Linked DNA regions of Homo sapiens: region 2 is linked to region 1. Evidence: promoter capture Hi-C in human tissues and cell types (Jung and others, 2019). All regions are on one chromosome and are shown on one strand. Each heading gives the region's core, a stretch centred on a gene start or on the middle of the fragment in contact. The rest is flanking DNA. Distances are from core to core; before and after follow the strand shown.

Evidence for each region. The method cuts DNA at HindIII sites, captures the fragments that hold promoters and counts their contacts. A contact is called where the count stands out against the background at its distance.
Region 2: a contact is called between a fragment that was not itself captured here and the fragment with the promoter of LRRC63 in region 1, in 1 of the 25 tissues and cell types used here (dorsolateral prefrontal cortex).

What each region holds. Positions count from the first base shown.
Region 1 is chr13:46,210,094-46,213,477 of GRCh38, forward strand. It overlaps LRRC63 (leucine rich repeat containing 63), which reads left to right and starts at 1,835. Exons shown (of 10, transcript NM_001282460.2): 1 at 1,835-2,166; 2 at 2,909-3,026. The coding sequence starts at 2,942. It overlaps LOC107984578 (a long non-coding RNA gene), which reads right to left and starts at 1,759. Exons shown (of 4, transcript XR_001749863.3): 1 at 1-1,759. RefSeq lists a silencer at 1,591-1,920. The HindIII fragment of the contact is 9,677 bases long and covers 1-3,384 here.
Region 2 is chr13:45,820,943-45,824,305 of GRCh38, forward strand. All of the region lies in intron 1 of SIAH3 (siah E3 ubiquitin protein ligase family member 3), which reads right to left. Among named protein-coding and RNA genes, the nearest start is that of SIAH3, 29 kb to the right of the region's middle. The HindIII fragment of the contact is 3,191 bases long and covers 431-3,363 here.

The DNA.
Region 1 (3,384 bases), core at 585-3,084:
CAAATAAATAGGCTGACCGTACATACATCAGAAAAAGCAGACCCTTAAAATCCAAAAGGGAGTTATTCATTATTTCAAAAACACGTTATTTTACAAAAGAAGAAAGAAAATTGAGGGGATAATATTTTCAAAAATATAAGAACTATAAAATAATCTAAATTGAATTTTGTTTGTCCTGTCTAAACTCATCCTATACTGATATATCATTTCCATAGACAAAGCGAGTCAGATGTGTTAGAATAACATATATACATATAAAATATACCAAGCCATGGATTTAATTTTCATAATAACTATCTCATTTGCCTAAATGTTTGGTACTAAGTGGTAGAAATAGAAGACAAAATGTTCACACCTGAGATTACATATTAAACCGCCCTAGGTTTTAGTCTCATACTTGCTAGAAGAAATCTGCAAGGAATGATACCTGGATGCCTGCGGATTCCAAGTGTGACAAAGCATTTTTTGAAAAAGCATTCAGAAGCCTTGCTTTCGACTACACAAAGCTAAGCATAAATTTTAAAGGCCAAACGTCAGTCAGTAAAACTGAATTCCTGTAGTTCTCATGGTTCCAACGATCTTGAAGAGCATAGGTACCTGACTCAATTTACACTGTCATTTTTTATGCTTAAAAATATAAACCTTTTTTCACATTTACAAAATATGCACGATATATATTACTTGAGACTAATCTTAGCCACAGAGCTGCCTTTTATTTTCAGCTTTGTATTTCTGAGAAACTAATGAATCTATGGTGTAGATAACAGCAAAAGTGGAAATAAATTCATAGTCTGGGGCAGCAGTATAATTGGGACACAGTAAACTTACAAGGAAAAGAAACAGTACACTACTACTGTAAAGGAAAACAAGTTGCATAATATTTTCCAGAGTCTGATTACTTTTTTGTTAAAACTTTTCTACTTTTTTCATTGATTGTTTTAAAACATGTTTGCTACTAAGGAGAAAAAGGAAGACATGGTTATGGTGTGAATCTTGAAAGATCCCCAAAGCTAGAAAGATTTATACAGAAGTCTCTCATTTTCCAACTTCTGTTATAAAGTTCCTGCGCTAGTACTTAGAAAAAACCAAACCTGGAAGGAAGCTCTACCTAGTTTACTTTCTGAGTTCGGATTTCCGCATCTATCAGATGAGCTCTTTCTAGTGCTCTTTCCCCCTCAAATCTCCAGAGAAACACGCACATTTTTGCAAACACACACGATGTATCTATGACTGCACACACAGGTTCATCAACACCATGACAGAGGCGACACGTCACAATATGATAACCAGAACAGAGGACGATGACAGTGAGAAATGGGTTTCTTTTATGGCCCGCTTGGATCCCTAATGCCCTTATTTCTACACAATCCAGCCTCAGCCAGGAACTTTAAAGGATCAGAAAGAGAAAACAGGTTGCATGAAAGGAAGAGAAAGAAAACCGAATGCCCGCTTTTCGAGAGCACTGCAAAATTAGCCCCGGGACCCGGCTGCACAAAAGTGCAGCCTTAAAGAATGCCAGCCCATATTCTAGACACCCAAGTAAAGCATCCTGTAATCGAGAGAAAATAATAAATAATAGTGGTCATTGCCATTAAGCATAAAAATAGTAATAACAATTGTCACCACGGCGTTCCGTACAGCAGCTGCGCGTGGAGCCGGCTTCTCCTCCGGCCCCCACGGCCCGCAGCTTCCCCTGCAGCCCCACAGTGCGTCGGAGGAAGGCGAGGGCTCCGCGCGCGCTGCACCGTGGGCTGGGCCTGCCCCTCCCGGCGCCCGCCTCGCCTCGCCTGTCCCGCGCCCGCCTCGCCTGTCCCGCCCCCGCGCCTGCGCGTCAAGTGGCTGGGCTGGCTTAGCGGACCCCGGTTGCTAGGGTGTGTCTCCTTGGCCTCCTAGAGGGTGGGGATCCGTGGTGCTTCTTCGGGAACAGCCTCCTGCAGGAAGACCCTCGCTGGACCTTTACCTCGCTGCCTAGATTCCGAGGAAAAGGAGATAGGAGACGAAAAGCCAGTTGGTTTGGAAAGCGGCCGATTATCCTAAAGGGTAGTGTGGGAGTCCAGCACTTCCATGCCCCTCTTTGGGTACTACGGAAGGGAGATTTCCAGCATCGTGTGGAACATATGACCAGGGAGTACACCTTGAGCGCTTGTGTGCAGTTATCTTTTGGCGGTAAACGGCCCATTTGTGCAGTTTCAGGGTGTTCCCTTCTAGGCTATCAATGGAATAATGCCGTGCCAGGCACTTTTGATGTTGCCCTGCAAACTAAAAGCACATTTTGGGGGTGCATCTTCTCGCATTATTTCTAAACAGTATGAGTTGGGATCCAGCAGCCCTGGGAAATCTCATTATAGTGAAACCCATCTTATTTTAGGATTGAATTGTTTTGGCCCAAGCATAGTGGTTGAAAAACAAGCCATTATAGAAAGAAAACAATTTGTTTGTGAATGGTTAGATATGGTGGGTCTTCAGAGGCTTATCTAATGAAGGCATCTTCTACACATTTCTGACCAAATTCTCTTTCTACATTTATAGCGATAACATTTTGGAGAGAGAGAAAAAAAATGTCATTTCGACTATTCTGAAAAATCAGTATTTACTAGTTGAAATAGCATTGGCAAATTGAACTTTGTACTAACATGGAAAATTGTAGAATGATCCTGGGTAGTAATAATACACATATTTTTAAAATTCTATGTTTACTTATAACCCTACATTTTAACTGGATTCTTTCTATTAATAGAAGTTTTAAAGAATTATTTTCTTACCCTCTTTTTTTTTCATAAAGGAATTCTGCCTGGATTCAGTAGAGTATTGGTACAGAATGATTTTCTTTAAGATGTAATCTAAATTCTTATTATTTTTCAACAATTCAAACATATTCAAAACCTTTTCAATTCTCATTTAAACCAAGGATTATGAAAAACAGCACTTATTATTCATTAAAATGCAAAAGCCCCCACTGCTTCTTCGAAGACCCTTACCTCCAAAATTCACTAAGCTGTCTTTACATGAGAAAAAAACCCATACAGGTATGTGTATTAATCAGATATGTGTATTAACATTTATGTATCTTTCATAGAAATTCCTTGACTTGCACAGCTCAGAATCACAATAAATACACTCACTAATAACTTACAAATGTTTGTTGTCAGGTGATAACATCCAATTCAATTCCACAGATGCATTTACTGATACTTATTGGTGGACTTAGTAGATTCAAGTTTATCTCATCGATAAAATTTACTTGTAACCCCAGAATTGGTACTCAAAGGGCTTTCTCAGTCATGCGTGGATATGTGCAGAGCACTGAAAATGAGTCACCCAACACACATGCCTCCAGCTGAGGTGGAACAAGGCTACCTCTACCTTCTTGTTTCAGCTCTCATA
Region 2 (3,363 bases), core at 776-3,275, 390 kb before region 1:
TCCTACCAAGGTCTGTTGTTTCCTTCTCTGTGTTCCCCTCTGTCCCTTCTGCATATATATGAGTACCATTATGGGTTGAATAGTCTCCCAAAAAGATGTTCAGGCTCTAAACCCCAGTACCTGTGAACCTGCAGACGTGACCTTATTTGAAGATAGGGTCTTTAAAGTTGATTGAATTAAGGTGAGGTCATTAAGGTGGGCCCTAATCTAATATGACTGGTGTCTTTGTAAAAAGTGGAATTTGGAGGCAGAAACAGACATAGACACATAGAAAAGATGATGTGAGGACACAGGGAGAATGCCATCTACAAGCCATGGAATGCCCGAGGCTGCCATTAGGCAGGAGAAAGGCCTGGGACAAATTATCCCTCACAGCCTAGAAGGAACAAGCCCTGCCAACACCTGGACTGTGAGACAATCAATTCCTGTTATTCAAGCCACCTAATTCATGGTACTTTGTTGTGGCAGCTCTAGGATTCAAATACAGGTACTAGTAGCCCAATCACACTGTCACATGAATTTGATTTCTTGTCTCCCCAGCAAAGCCATTGGTTCTTAAAGGCCTGAACCTACTGCCCCATGGCCCAGTAGAGTGCCTGACACATAGTATGCCATCAAAAAAATTTGGTGTCATAAAAATAATTAGACTTCAAGGTGGAAAATCACCGTAGAGATTTTTAACCATTGTCCTAATTAACTATAGCAAAGATGCTAATTATGAGCAAGTGTTATGCAAATGACTCTGTGGCCCTCTTAATTATATCATTACCTAGACATGGCCCCTAGGAAATAGCTGCGCTCAATTCTTGGGTTGAAAATCAATGAGAGTGGGGCCAAAAGGCAGTCAAGAGACAGTTTGTTGCTCAGCACGTTGGGTAGGAAGAGAGAACAAGAACAAATGTTCACTGTGAAATATCTGGAGGTTCTTTTTCATGTGCCCAGTTGATTTCTGCTTCTTATCTTTCAGCACCACCCTCCACAGAGCAGGGGTAGGGGCCTGAGTACCAGCCAGGAGTGATTTATGAGGGTTATCAGTGGCCGTTGTAGGGAATGCTTCACACCTGTGGGTCCCCGGCAGGACTATACCCCTTTGCTCTTGTGACATGTGTCCCCTGCTGCAAGTGACACGTGGACCCAGAGTGTCTCAGAGAAATCTGGCTCCTTGGCGCTCCCAGTCCAAGCTCCCCAGCATCATCCCTGAGACAGCTGGTGCAACAGGGAGCTTTTCTGAAGACACTGGGGTCTCAATGCGGACCTATATGGTGTCCCACTGCCATGATTCAGGAACAGAGAACAGAAAAATTGCTGTCTTTCTAGAATGTGATCTGGGAACTTGTTCTTCAGCTCCAATATAATTTTCCTAGAGGTGAACATATTTTCTTAGCAATCATTCATTATTTTTTCCAAGTATAGTAAGACAGTATATTGGACCATTTGAAAACAGACTGAGCCAAAAGGACTTTTAAGATCATTAAACTGCATTTGGATTTGAGTCTTTCTGATCTAAGCTTCAGTTACAAATTTACTAACTTGAGTGATCAATGCTGTGAAGAAGTGAGCTAACATTTTCATTATCAAATATATATATATATATATATATATATATATATATATTAGACTAGGGAACAGGCAAAAATGGTATTAATAATGATTGCCTCTGGGCAGTAGGATTATAGGTGATTTTATTTTCTTATATTTTTGATTTCCTAATTTTGAAAATGAACTTATTTTTTATATCATCAGAAAAATGTTACTTGTAAAGGACTTGAAATCCTCAGCCTGGATGACAAATGTTTGCTGTTTGGGAGCTGGGTGTGCCGCAGGCCTGGAAGACAGAAACTCATCATTGTCCTGAAACGGAGCTGGTTTTAAAGTGCCGTGTTCTTGCACTTCACGGCCTGCCCCATGGCCTCCTCCCCAGCCTGGAAAGTTATCTCTGTGAGGCTGTTTTTATTTTCTTTCTTAATGAGGAAATGAAGAACAAAGGCCACAAAGTCGTCCCAAGGTCCTTGCACCCTGGAGAGGGGCGAGCACTTTAGGAGCTCTTTGAATCCCTCCCTCTCCAGACAGAAAGCTTCTCCTTAGATCTAACCCGTCCCCTCTGCTCCAGATTAAAGCTGTTAGCTCTTATTTGAACCTCAGTAGAAGGTGGGCATCCTATTCCATAATAGTCCTGGGTCTACTTGAATAATAAAAGAATTACAACTCGTATTCTCATGACGCTTTAGAGTGGTGATTTCTTAACTGTAAAGGCACAATCTAACTGCCTGGGGAGCGTTTAACGAAGACCACTGCCTGGCCCAACCCTAGAGTGCTGACTTAATCGGTCTGGGGTGGGCACCTACAGCTGGAGTTCTGTAAAAGCTCCCCAGGCAATTCTAATACGTGGCCAGAGCTGAAAACTGCTGCTTCCGAATTTTTAAAGCACGTGTACACTATTTCAGCTGATCCTCAGAACCACTATAGGCAAGGCAAGTCTGCCCTATTTTCCCAGGCAGGTCTTTTTATAGCATTACTTTAAAAACCTTAAATCTCAGTCTACTTCTGGAGTTTTTCCAATTTTCTTTTCCTTTGTGAAATCTACCGTTGATATGCCTTTCAGCTTTAAAACTCTCCAGTTACCTGAATGTAAACTCTCAGCCCTAGAGAACTCCATCTATTCTGTGATTCTCCAAGCACTTGAAAGATTTTGGTCTCAAAACTGCTATCCAAAGACACCATGAAGCCTGTCCTGCTTCTCATCACTCAGCACTATCCTACCCTACCTTTAAGACAAGGTCAAAAGATGCAAAGGCCTTCAGGGCCAGCAGGCACTGTGCAAGTGTTAATCTGGTGGTTTAGTCCTACAGGCCTGACAGTATAGGGAGTGGTGCTGACAGTGTTTGTCAAAGATCTGGGCTGTGACCTGGTGTGACCTTGGGCAAATTACTTACTGGCTCTGAGCCTCAGCTCTCTCCTCTGTAGTAACATTGGGACTGTATTTTTAAAAAAATATTATTTTAGATTCAAGGGTACATGTGCAGGCTTGTTACATGGGTATATTGAGTGATGTTGAGGTTTGGGTTTCTAGTAAACCCATCACCCAAACAGTGAACATAGTACCAAATAGTCTACATTTTAGGCCTTACAAAGGTCAAAGATCCATTCTCATCTGTTTAATCTTCACCACTCTATAATTAGGGCAATTTTTACAACCCGTTTTACATACTAGGCAAATCTGACTTAGGTTTAAGTGAACTTCAGTTAAAAAATTATACAAGTAAAAACTGGCAGAACTTGGTTTTGAAGTCAATTCCTTTTAGTGCCAAACCCTTTATTTGTCCCACAACGCCACATCGAATTCTCTAAGAGTGTCAGTAATGT